Linked DNA regions of Homo sapiens: region 2 is linked to region 1. The links are contacts of gene promoters, found by promoter capture Hi-C in human tissues and cell types (Jung and others, 2019). All regions are on one chromosome and are shown on one strand. The core of a region is centred on a gene start or on the middle of the fragment in contact, and the rest is flanking DNA. Distances in the headings are between cores, read along the strand shown. Region 1 holds the start of STOM (stomatin). Region 2 overlaps C5-OT1 (C5 3' UTR overlapping transcript 1).

Region 1 (6,922 bases), core at 1,918-4,417:
AGTGTAGTTTAATTATGGGAGGGGAGGGGACAGATGAGTCAAACTGATAAATATGTTATGTAATAAACATTATGATAGAGATATGCACAGGATACCAGGCAGACGCAGGGAAAGGGTATTCACTTTTTTTGTAGTTACAATAGTTTTCAGGAAATTGCTTTTCCATGCCTTCTTAAAAAAACTGATTTTGAATTCCATCTGTATCACTTTATCAACATCTTTTTTTTCCCTCAAAGATGACTAGGAATCAGTGACTGTCTTTTACTAGGTAAAATTTATACCATCAAATGGCACCAAAAATCTATTTAATCATGAATAAATATGCCAGTTTTGTAGACTTGGTCTTCCATAAGTTAATTTATGACCACTGATGGAATAACTCAGATTAATTATTGAAGAAGTTACAAAGTTCTCTCCAATCTGATTGGCTATAACAACTGAAATAAACAATCAGTCTCCCAAAGGGTTTTATTTGTTGACATGGCTCTTAATTACAGTGATACATTCTTTGCAATTACTTGCATTATTTCATTACAAAGTGAATGCATCGCCTTTAAGAAAAACTAGTCTTGCCCTAGGCCTGGTGCTATTTACCTACCTAGGACTAATTCTCAGTAAAGACAAAGAGGCAGAGTTTAGGCTTTTAAAATTCCACTGCTTCTTTCACAAGCAGCCTTCTGGAAGTCATCACTGAAGCTGTGTTCCTCCAGGCTTTTTTTGTTTATTGTCTCTCAACTTAAGTAAAGTACTGAAGTTAGACAAGGTTCTACATTTTGGTATCCATCTCTGGGATAGGGAAAATGATTCAGAAAATCAGATAGCCGGGGTTTGAAACAGGGCTGAAAATTTTAGAAACTGTGATTTTGCCATGTGAGCCGCAGTATCCTTATTGTGAAATGGTGAATAATGACTTTTTCCTTGTAGAGCTGTTACAGAATGCAATTAGATAATGTTTGTAAAGCACTTAAACTGTCTTTTGGCACAGGGAAAGCATTCAATAACCTCTATTTAATAAATTCCAGCAATACCTTTCCTAGTAGCGTCAAATTTGTTAGGTTTACATTAAAAAAACACAGACTATGCAAAATTTTATTTGTATGTCTAATTTTTGAGAGGAAGTGGTGGTTTTCATTAGATCTTGAAAGATTTCTGTCTAAACAGTAGTTAAGTGTAGAACCAAGGAAAAAAACTGGAAGTTAAAAACTCATCTATGACCACTTGTCTGTAAATAAACATTAAGTACAAAGATCATGTTGATTCTCAAAGAACTCCAAGCAGATTTGCCACTGCAGTTTCCCACCAGGAGGTCAGGGTATTGAGGAATGCATGCTAATACCCACCTTTTTATCTAGGAAAAGACAACTAACTATCGAAGAGGCAGTTACCACCCATTTTTTCCCTATTCAAGTTTTAGAATCAGTCAAATCTAGATTTAAATACAAACTAAGTGACTTTAAGTAATTTAACTTCTTTGACTATCAGTTTCATCAAGTATAATATGGGGATAAGAATACCTACCACATCATCTGTTGTGAAGATTCAATAAAATAATATATACATAAAATACGTGGCACTGGGGGGGTCGCGGTGGCTCATGCCTGTAATCCCAGCACTTTGGGAGGCCGAGGCGTGTGGATCACTTGAGGTCAGGAGTTTGAGACCAGCCTGACCAACATGGTGAAACCCTGTATCTACAAAAAATACAAAATCAGCTGGGCATGGTGGTGCACGCCTGTAATCCCAGCTACTTGGGAGGATGAGGCAGGAGAATCACTTGAACTCGGGAGGCGGAGGTTGCAGTGAGCGGAGATCACACTCCAGCCTGGGCAAGAAAAGCGAAACTCCGTCTCAAAAAAAAAAAAAAAAGTGATACGGAGCCTGACCTATTTAGTTTCAATTTTTGTTGTTGTGGTTGCCATTATTCTCATCAACTCCTCCCTGTTACACTCTCCATTTGGGAAGATAACCTGCAACGTTATTAGTAGACAAAAAGTGAGGAATAAAGATTTCTGTAATTCCTTTGATGCTCCTGGGAAGGAACTGAACACAGGGATCCCTGGACAAGGGAAATGGAACTTATAGCTAAGATGCTGTGGATAAAGCTGGCTTTACAAATAATCAGAATAGATGACTCCAATGTCATGTTCTTTGAGGGGTCCTGGAAAGGACCACCCAGCCCTCTAAATTGCTTTCACTGCCATCCTGCCTGAAATTCCATCTTTAGAAACACTGTAATTCCTCTGGATCACTAAGAGCTCCTGAGTGGGTACCAGGACTCCTGAGAGGTCCACCATCTCTCTTTATTGGAACCCCCTCCCCAGAGTACCAGTTCCTCCACAGGGGAACGAGACTGAGCCACTTACAGCTCCTGCCTTGAAGACTGGGAAGGGAGGGTGGGGGTGAGGGTGGGAGAACTCAGGGTTCCTGGCGAGGAACAAAAGCCGGGAAGGAGAGTTCTCCAAAACGCAGAGGAAAGCGGAGGGGGAAAAATGGGGCAGAAAGTGGAGCTAGAAAGAGAGGTAAGAAGAAAGCCAGAGAGACTTCTTCCTTCTGCAAATCGGTCTAAGTTTCGGGAGGTGGGATTGGGGGAGGAGGGGGTTCACCCTGGGGCCAGGCCAGGGCTGGGTGGAGGAGGCGGCCTTCGAGAGAGTGAGTCGGGAAAGAAGGGGAGTGGGCAAAGGGTGAGATGTGGGGTCCCGGTCCCCGCCTCGCTGGCTGCCAGTTCCCTCTGCGTTTCCTAGTCCGCGTGCGTGACACGAGATAGTGCAGCCCTGGCATGGGGCTTGGCATCTGGCGGCCGCGAGATAACCAGGGCCCGTGCGATGGGAAACGTGCCGTTGGCAGCCCGCCACCCCTCCATCGTGACCTCAGTCTGCCAAACAGGGTTCGTGATGCTCAGTTTACTAGGGAGGAGCCGCGGCTTTGAGATCTCGCCCAGCCCGAAGCAGCGGAGACTGGCCAGGAGCCCGGCTGTCAGACCTCGGAGCGCACGCTGCGGGCGGGGGCTCGGTCCACGGGGGAGGGTCAGGGGACGCGGGACTCACCCTTGAAGGAGTCGGGGAGCCGCTGGGCTTCGGAGTCCCGTGTGTGCCGCTTCTCGGCCATGCTGCCCGAGACGCAGTCGCACTCCCCCGTCCTCGTTGCCAAACCCGGAGCCGCCGGGAATGCCCTGAGGAGCCAGAGGCACAAGACCCAGATTGCCGCCCCGCCCCCAATCGAGGTCCCGCCCTCGTGAGAGTTGGCCAATCAACGCCCAGGATCGAGGAGGACCCACCTCCCAATCCCCGCCCTCCTGTCCCTCCACGGCGCGACTGCTTCGCAGTCACTTCCCGCTAGTTCTGTGGGCTGAGGGGCGTGGCCTGAGGGGCGTGGCCTGAGGGGCGAGAGCCCCCAAGGCTGTGGGTATGAGGCCGGGGCCCTGCACCGGAAGGGAGGGCGGAAGCCACGGGACGTGGAGCAGATGGTGAGGATAGTGGGGAGGTAGCAGCAGAGGATGACCCGAGGCAAAAGTGCAAGTGAAGAAAAGTCGCCTTGCCGGGCAGAGGTACGGGACCAAGGCGCCTCCTCTGGGCTGAGGAGTTAGAGGGAAGAAAATGGCGCCCTGTCATGAGGGCGCGAGGTCCGAGTTGAGGGGAGAAGACTGAGGGACACAGAAGTGGCCGAAGTGAGGGCGCTGAGGTCAGCCTGAGCTGAGAGGGCCGGCAGATCACGCCGCAGCCGAAGTGAACGAACTCGAGTGAGGTGTGTTAAGAAAATCAAAATGTATAAATTTGGAAAAGGAGAGGAGGCCGGGCGCGGTGGCTCACGCCTGTAATCCCAGCACGTTGGAAGGCCGAGGCGGGTAGATCATCTGAGGTTAGAAGTTCGAGACCAGCTTGGCCAACATGGTGAAACCCCGTCTCTGCTAAAAATACAAAAATTAGCCGGGCGTGTGGCGCGCGCCTGTAATCCCAGCTACTTGGGAGGCTGAGGCAGGAGAATCGCTTGAACTTGGGAGGCAGAGGTTGCAGTGAGCCGAGATGGCCTGGGTGACAGAGCGAGACTCCGTCTCAAAAAAACAAAACAAAAAACAAAAAAACAGGAGAGGAGACTTTATTTCTTGTAAGGGGTTACAGCCTGCAAGGTGGCCATTCCGCAGGCTGGAGAATGGCCAGGACCAGAGACAGGCATTTCGTTGGAGGAGGGGTTGGAGTAGCGGCTTTATGCTGAACAGCTTGGGTAGACATGCATATTCAGCAGGTGACAGGAGGAGCTATGAATATTCATGAGGGTGGTCCTGACGCATGCCCATTGAGCAAACATGCATGTAACATACAACCCATGTTCATTTTGGAGTGAAGAGTTACCAATTAAATGTTAAATGCCTGGCCTGCATGGTGACGTCCCCATCTCTACAAAAAGTAAAAAAAAAATAGCCAGGTGGGGTGGTGTGTGCTTGCGGTCCCAACTAGTCAGGAGGCTGGGGCAGGAGGATCACTTGAGCCCAAGAGTTGGAGGCTGCAGTGATGTATGATCAGATCACTGCACTCCAGCCTGATGGACTCTAAAAAATAATAACAATACATGTATTACAGTTAGACCCCATGCGTCAAAAGGTCTTTTCAGGACAGGAAGGTGTGCAAGTATGCAGTCTGTGTAAACTAGCCAGAGCCAGTCCATGGTCGGTAGTTTTCCTATGAGGAGAAAGTTACTGAAATCAGCCTCTTGTCCAATTAAAGCTGTAATGATGGCTGGTGGAATAGGGGTTCCATTAGGCCACATCTGGTGGAGCTGCAAATTGTTTTAATATTGCTTATCTCGAGGCCAGTGCTTGTTAAGCTGCTAGAGAAAGAGAACAACCTTGTGGCAGTTAGAACACAGTTTATTCTCTAAGTGAAGGGATGTGTGCCTTAACCTTTGCCTGGCATGACCTTAGGTATAATTTGTTTATAATTTGGTATCTTATTGTCACAAACAGTCTGTTCTGTCAGTCTTATGATCTGTGTTTTAACGTTAATGCTGGTCAGCTGTTGTGTCTAAACTCCAATACGATGAAGTTATAATGAGGCGAGTCTGACCTTCTGTCCTGTCATTGGCTGGGAACTCAGTTTTAAAGTTTTCTGGAGTCCCCTTGGCCACAAGGGAGTCCATTCAGTCGGTGGGGTCATTTATTCAAACAAAATCTTCTTGGAGCATCTTCCATGTGGCAGGGAGTGTGCTAAGGGCCTCGTGGAGTTTACCTTATACTCTAGTTGGGAGATGGGCCACAAACAAGTAATTGAATCATTACACATGGTGAAGGAAGCTGTGAAAGGAGTGGAATATTCGGAGAACAGCAAAGGTTAGGACAGGGGAACACCTCTGTAAGGAAGGGGCTTTGAGATGTCGCCTGAGAAATGAGAAGGAGCCAGCCTGGGGAAGGGGAATAAGCGGTGCAGGAGGTGGGAAAGGGTATCCCAGGTAGAGGGAAAAGCATGTGCAAGGGCATTCCCAACCTCAGGCCTTCTCTTGGGGTGTGGCTGAAGACCTCATATTTGGAAAGTAGGCTGTGTTTGCATTAGACTTGTTCTATTGCACAATGTTCAAAGTATGTTAATGTACACAAGGTGCACTTATAAAAACATTCGATTTTGAAATAAGTACAGATTCACAGGAATTTGCAACAACAGTACAGAGAGGTCACATGTCCCCTTTACCCAGTTTCCCCCAATAGTTACGTCTTACTTAACTAGAGTATCAAAACCAGGAAATTGACAGTGGCACAAAATGTATTTATAGTTCTGTGCCATTTTAACATGTGTAGATTGATATAACCACAGTAATTGATACAGAACTATTCCATTACCACAAAGATCTCCCTCAGGAGGAGCACTTCTTTCTTAATGTGCTCAATATTTGGCTGTGTACTACCCAACACCTTGTGGTGCTTAGGTCATATGAAATGGTAGACTTTCTCTCTGATTTTACAGCTCTGGAGCTTTGTGACTATCAGGACGGAAACGGGAGCAGACACAACAGGTGTTAAGAGAGGCATTAAGATGATCTTTGCTTGCAGGAACAGGCTCCAGTGTGTGATCAAAACCTGACTCAGAGCTTGCAGTTGACTTTTAGTCAAATACTGGCCAAGAACTGTTTGTATTCCTGGGATGGAGTGCAGCTTGTGCAGTCACTTTGTTAGCCTTCTGGAGAAGATAAGGAGGGGAGTACAGTAATTTAATGATCCCTTCTCTCTAAATCATCCTTGAGAAAGTCCATAGCTTCATTTTTCCATTCTGTAACGAATAAGCCCTGGAGACATAAACTTCCCGTTTATCCTGTCATTCCCAGGAAAGAGGAGCAAATACACAAGAAACTAATTAAACCCTTCGGTAGAGGAGGCCTTGATTACAAATTGCATATTGTGAAAAAGGATTTAGGTTTCATTTTTGTTGGAAAGGAAAATGGTATTTCAAAATGAATTTAATATGTGTACCCCTATCAGTTACCTAAGCCCAAGTCTCAAGACAATCTTAACAGTGTAGTGTCCCTTCTGGAGAATTAGAAGTGTCTCCCTTTGGGGTAAAGACTTTGGTAAACACTTCTTGGCTCTGGTTTCAGATTGCATCAGTTCTAAAACTAATTCCTGGCCCTAAACTAAGAACAAGCTTTGACTTGATTTTTAAACTGCTTTTAGAATAGAGTTTCCAATTTTTTATTTAAATATGCTTACTCTCACTTGCCCATGAAATTGGTGTATTCTGGCTTTCTCGTGCATATTCTGTTATAAATGTATTGATTAAATGTACTTTAAAAATCAATTTCTCACTCTTAAGATTAGAAAAAAACAAATATTAGTACATCCCTTTCTCCTTTTGGAGGATTTTTAATCTTAAATTTTCTCCCAGTAATGATTAGAAGTTAGAATGATTTTTTTTAAAGAACCTTATGGCCAGGCGCAGTGGCT
Region 2 (6,416 bases), core at 2,511-5,010, 430 kb before region 1:
GTGACACTATTCCCAGCTATAGGGGTCCCAAACCTGCAGCAAGCCCTGTTTGGGAGAGAAGATTGTATTTTAAATCAAGTTGAGAATTTTGCTTTTGTATGGGACTGAACATCAAATTTATGAATAGAGTTGTTTGGTGACTGAAGTGATCATAGGACTTTTTAGTTCCTAAGAGTGATCACAACAGTCATAAGATGCTTGAGTTTTCCTTAAAGGATAGAGAAAGGATATCTCTCCCTTCCCTTTGAATAAATCTTTATAGGGAGCTGGAAGGCAAAACAAAGTTGACTTATGAGTATGCACAGGGAGTCCTACTTACTTAATTTAGCAATTATATTTGCTTTTGTAAAATGGGATCTCTCCTTCCATTATATTTTTCTAATTGGTGTTGTTTGCCTCTATCACATCTTCCAAAGCAACTAAAAGCTTGGGCTTACCTCAGATAAAGGCACTTAACCATTACCTGAAAGATCAGCTGTGCTTCAGGCTTTAAACCCTTAATTGCTCGGTATTCTCATGTTCACAGGTTGAGGGACTCAGTATTAACGTGCCTTTGTTGCAAGTTCTTGTAAACAAAGACAGTAAAATTATGGTTCTGATGTTCTATTAATTGTCATTAATTTATACCTACCAAGTGTCAGGTCTTGTGCTTAGGATACAGAGAAGAACAAGATACAGCCCCTGTCCGCCAGGAGCTCACAGTGGGATAGAAGGCCATGATAAGAAATCAATGAGAAGGCTGTGGGTGGCAGGAGCTCCAGCACAGATGTGTTTCCAGAGAAGGACTTACAGGGGCTTGTCCTGAGTGTACCCTTGATGCTGGCACTATGTCTGGCCCATGATAAGCTTCCTGTCCCAGGCCATGTGCTTCCAGGAAGTTATCCTTGCTTAATTCTATGTCTACTCCGATTACTTCTTTACTTTATCATCTCAGCACTTTGCAATTCAGCCTTGTGTTCATTTACCCTGGTGCTGCAAATACAGGGAACACACATAATGCACAGGATACTGACATGCTGTGTATCTCAGGGCACTCAGAAGAGCTGAAGCTATGATTTGAATCCATAAAGTTTGACATCTGCTTCCCATTCGTAGGCAGTTATTACAAAGTGGCAATCACTGCCTTTGTGATGATCATAAGCATTTTTCATGCTCCTACCTAGTCTTTAAAATGATTCTTTTTAGAGGCTGCATAATATTTCATGGAATATGCATTCTGTCATTTACATGTAATTATGAGTAATAATTACAATTTCCCCCTTTCGAACTATTAATTTATATGTCAGGTTTTTTATATCACACAAAGTACTTCAATAAATTACAGTGGTATTGCTTTATATACCATAATTCTAGATTCATAGTAATTCTAGGCTAATTCCTACTTGATATCTCCACAAGAATGTCTAAAAGGCTTCTTAAACATAACAAAGCCCTGACAGAAATCCTTCTTCTCTTCTGTATTTGCTTGTGAGCACTGGGTAACAAAGTGCCACAAACTGGGTGGCTTGAAACAACAGAGATGTATTCTCACACGGGGCTGGAGGTTAGAAGTCTGAAAGCAGTTTCGGCAGGGTTGGTTTCTTCTGGCCGGCTCTGAGGGCGGACCCGTCCCGTGCCTCTCTCCTGGCTTCAGGTGACAGCAGTGGTTCTTTGCCTTCCTTGGTTTGTACATGCATTACTCCAATTTCTACCTCTGTCTGCATGCGACCGTCCTCTCCCAGTGTCTGCATCTTCACGTGAGGTTTTCTCTGCGTATCCCTGTGTCTACATTTCCCTCTTCTCATAAGGACACCTGTCATTTTAGATTAAGAGCCACCCTATTCCAGTGTGACTTCATCTTACCTTAGCTAATTACACATGCAACAAACTTATTTCCAAATCAGGTCCTACTCTGAGGTACTGTAGATTTGAATTTCAACATATCTTTTTGAGTGACGTAGTGTTCAACCCATAACATCTTCTTTCCTTGTTTTCCTAAATGTGTACCTTCTCCTGTCTTCTCCAGCTGTGTAAATGGCATCTGCAGCAGTGCAAGCCAGGAATCCGTGAGTAATCCTTGACTCCTCTGCATTCATTACCCCACCCTGATTCCTTCAGCAAATCCTCTCAGCACCACTTCCAAAACTATCCTGAATTCATCCCTGTCTCTTCATCTCCATTTCTTCCTTTCTAGTTGAAGCTACTGTTACCTGTCACATGACAATGGCACCAGCTCCTCACTGGTCTCCCCTGACTCTGTTCTCATCTACAACCTGGTCTCATGCCCTTTTGCTTAATACTCTCAACTGCATAGAATCCAAACATCTCACCAGTTCTTACAAAATCCCAGTGATCTGGCCCCTCTCACTTCTCTGACCTCATTGTCCATCACTTGCTTTCTTCGATCCAGCCACGTCAGCCTTCTCGCTGTTCCCTGGACCCCTGGGTCTTTACACGCACCAGCCTGGACCTTCATGTGGTTGTTCCTTCTTGTCAAGAAAATCTCAGCTTAAATGCCACCTTATTTAGTGATATTTGATAGACCTTCCCTAACCATGCAATCTAGAGCAGCCACTGAGTCATTCTATATCATAGAACTTTTAAAAAATTCTCTGCAGAGGCCAGGCGCGATGGCTGACACCTGTAATCCCATCACTTTGGGAAGCCGAGGCAGGCAGATCACTTGAGTTGAGAGTTTGAGACCAGCCTGGGCAACATGGTGAAACCCTGTCTCTACTAAAAGAAGAAAAATTAGCTGGGCATGGTGGTGCGCACCTGTAGTCCCAGCTACTCAGGTGGCCGAGGCAGGAGAATTACTTGAACCTGGGAGGCGGAGATTGCAGTAAGTCAAGATCATACCACTGCACTCCAGCCTGGGCAACAGAGTGAGACTCTACCTCAAAAAGAAAAAAAAAAATTCCTCTGCAGAGAATTTAGTAAATATATTATTTTCCCTCTTTAAGTGGGTATTTATTGTCTTTTTCCTCAATTATAACATAATCTCCAGGAGAGCAGGGACTTTGTTTATCTTGATTACACCATCTAGAACTGTGCCTGGCATGCAGGAGGCACTCAATAAATATTTATTAAATGAATAATCTTCCACAGAAGATCTTTGTGTACCAACTATTTTTTTTTCCTTTTGGGAATTTATATAAATCATTCAACAGGAGAAGGATTACTGGATCAAGAAATATAAACATATTTTGGCTCCTGAAATGCATTGTCGAATTGCTTTGCAGACAGATAAGATCAGTTTTCATTTGTTGGGCAAATTTTCAAATCCCAAGTGCCAAGACAGTGATTTCTGGTATGTGGGAGAGGGGGGAGGGGAAGGGAGAAAGGAAGGAGGGAGGTGGCGGAGGGCAGGCATAGGCCGAATCAGAGCTGCTGTCCCTGGTGGGTCAATGGAACTAGAAGCAGCAGCAGTAGTAATCAACCAAGCAGGCCCACCCTCCACAGCGTCTCAAAGGCCCACGCAGGGCAGGAAAGATCTGCTGTATGAACTTGGGTCTGGCCACAGGAGCCAGAGTGAGCAGAAAAGCTGACAGGAGCACCTGCTCTTCGGCTTGCTGTTGAAATCCTGAAGGCTGGGTCAGGGGCCAATGAGCAAGTGGGAGTGAGGACACAAAGTGAGGCTTGGATCTGGTACTGAAGGCTCCTTTGCAGAGGCTGTTTCTGGGTTGCAGCTACTCTGCTTAGGACACGGGATCTGGAACATTAAGTTACACAAGGACCTCTGTCCATAAACCTCCAGGAACACAGAGGCCTCTTCACGTAGTTCTGCTGCTGCCAGGCCCATTCAGCAGCATGCTGGCCCTGTATTCCTTTGCTTCCTGCTCCGCCACTAGAGCAATGGCATAATTTTTAAAAAGTGAAATAACATGAATAACATTTGCTAGGAACATTACAAAAAAGGTGAAGTTAAAAAAAAGAATCCCTAAGAACTAATACATAGAAGCTGAGAATAAATTAATCAGACTAAGGTACCAGTTGAGTAATCCTTATCCAAAATGCTTGGAACCAGAAGTGTTTCAGATTTCAGATTTTTTTCAGATTTTGGAATATTTGCATATACATACAATAAGATATCTTGGGGATGGGACCATGTCTAAATACAAAATTCATTTATGTTTCATGTATACCTTATATACATCCCCTAAAGGTAATTTTATACAATGTTTTAAACAATGTTTTACATGAAACAAAGTTTGTGTTAAGTACTTATGTGTGGAATTTTTCATTTGTGGTGTCATGTTGGTACTCAAAAAGTTTCAAATTTTGAAGCATTTCAGATTTTGGATTTTCAGATTTGGGATGCTCAACCTGTAATTATAAAATTATGGTAATTAGAAGAAAAAAAGAAAAATTATTAAAACCGTACAAAAGTTAACAGGATGACCCATCCCAGACCTATAGAATGAGAACCTGCACTTTCACAAGCTCTTAAACAACACTTCTGAAACTTTAACATGCCTATAATATTCCTGGATTTTTTTTTTTTTTTTTTTTGAGATGGAGTCTCACTCTGTCACCCAGGCTGGAGTGCAGAGGCGCAATCTCGGCTCACTGCAAGCTTCACCTCCCGGGTTCACGCCATTCTCCTGCCTCAGCCTCCCGAGTAGCTGGGACTATAGGCACCCGCCACCACGCCCGGCTATTTTTTTGTATTTTTAGTAGAGACGTGGTTTCACCGAGTTAGCAAGAATGGACTCGATCTCCTGACCTCGTGATCCACCTGCCTCGGCCTCCCAAAGTGCTGGGATTACAGGCGTGAGCCACCACGCCAGGCCTGGATATCTTATTAAAATATAGATCTCCGAGCTCTGCTCCCAAGATTTTCTGTTTCAGTAGGTCTGGGGTGGGGTCTGGGAATTTGCATTCCTGACAAACTCCCAGGCGGCCAGGGACCACACTTTGTATAGCATTGTTCTAAGGCTGACAGTCCTGAGGACCAAAAGAGGAAGGCAAATGGGAAAATTCGAGGCACTGGAGGAGGTTGTTTTTTAAGATAGTGGTCTTTTCCCAATTTTTAAAAAAGCACACCAGGCAGTCTCTGTCTATGGTATCTTAGCACAAAGATGCTTTTTGTTTTTAATGCTATGTTTATATTTGTGCAAGATTCTACATTTTAAAATTTCTCTCACTTGTTGGATCTTATTTCATCCTTGCAACAAATCTGTAAATTGGGTTGGGGGAAATTCTTTCATTATTTTTAAAAGATAGAACTGAGGCCTAGAGAGTTAAGACAGCTGGAAATCACACTCCAGCTGACTGCCACAGATTGTGGGCTCCTGAGTTGGCACTAAGGTGTTTTTCCTAATCATTATAACCCATTAGGGCTGATAATGTTACTTCCGCTTTCTAGATGGGCAAATTGAGACTTGATGAGGTTCAGGAACTCTCCCAAGGCCACAAGTCAGGGCAGCTCCTCTGTTTCATGGTTCAATGTCTTACTTCTTCACTGTATCACTTCCCCATACTAACTCCTCCTTTCTCTCTCTGTCTGTCAGTCACACACACACAACATAGCCAAATCAGTGAGCCATTTTAATTTCGACACCCAGCATTTATTTAATGAACAGACCACAGTTTGGCCTTTCGCCTTTAGAGGTGAAAGGAGGAGGCAAGAAGAGGATGAATGACGACCAGCCTTGCCCCAAGGCCCTAACAGACTCAGGAAACCTTTCTGCCTTCTCCTCCAACTCTAAGCATATCTCCTTTCCCTTCCTCTTCCTTTGCCCTCAGAGAATTACAGTCTAGTCCTGGCTCTAATTTCCTAAAGGTTCTTTATTTGGAAAATATATTATTAAGCCAAACAATCCTTTCCTTAACTCCAATTTCTCTTGTCTCATTCAGTTTCAACCCCCCTCCCACCGACCACCCTTCCAACACCAACACACACACACACACACACACACACACCCCTCCAGCCTAACAACAACAACACCAAAACCCTCTGATTGCTCCCAACTCATCTGTTAGACATGTTAGCCCTGGCCCTCACCACCAGGCTCGGGTCTCTGCTTGCCCCTGCAGGCAATGTTTCTATTAGGCCCTGAGGAGACACCAGGCTGCATATAGGAAGGCAGAGGAGCCTGGTGCTGCGGGTTCTAGCCCCAGCTCTGTTGTGGAACCCTCTTGGTGAGTCCTGGCTCCTCCCTGGGCCTGCTTCCTGGTCTGTGAAATGGGGAGGCATTGATGAGATGATCTCTAGAGGATCTTTAAATGTCAATATTTTATGAATCTAAGTAGGATGTTCACAGGTAAAAAATTATTGAATTTACCACCTCTAGTGTGCCAGAGAGGTATTATTACCCAGCCACAAGTTACTTTTATTGTGCCAGGCACTGTGCTAATCATTTTATGTGCATTATCTGTATTATCTCATTTGAGCCTTGCAGAAATCCTCTGACTTGGGTATTATTAGTACTTCT

What was found. The method cuts DNA at HindIII sites, captures the fragments that hold promoters and counts their contacts. A contact is called where the count stands out against the background at its distance.
Region 2: a fragment that was not itself captured here is called in contact with the fragment with the promoter of STOM in region 1 in 1 of the 25 tissues and cell types used here (aorta).

What each region holds. Positions count from the first base shown.
Region 1 is chr9:121,367,083-121,374,004 of GRCh38, forward strand. STOM (stomatin) reads right to left here and starts at 3,168. Exons shown (of 7, transcript NM_004099.6): 1 at 3,045-3,168. The coding sequence starts at 3,105. It overlaps LOC102723324 (a long non-coding RNA gene), which reads left to right and starts at 2,811. Exons shown (of 7, transcript NR_187160.1): 1 at 2,811-2,884. RefSeq lists enhancers at 3,173-4,133, 3,593-3,682. The HindIII fragment of the contact is 10,810 bases long and covers 1-6,922 here.
Region 2 is chr9:120,939,205-120,945,620 of GRCh38, forward strand. It overlaps C5-OT1 (C5 3' UTR overlapping transcript 1), which reads right to left. Exons shown (of 2, transcript NR_148450.1): 2 at 3,048-4,305. Among named protein-coding and RNA genes, the nearest start is that of C5-OT1, 10 kb to the right of the region's middle. RefSeq lists an enhancer at 5,642-5,691. The HindIII fragment of the contact is 6,248 bases long and covers 637-6,416 here.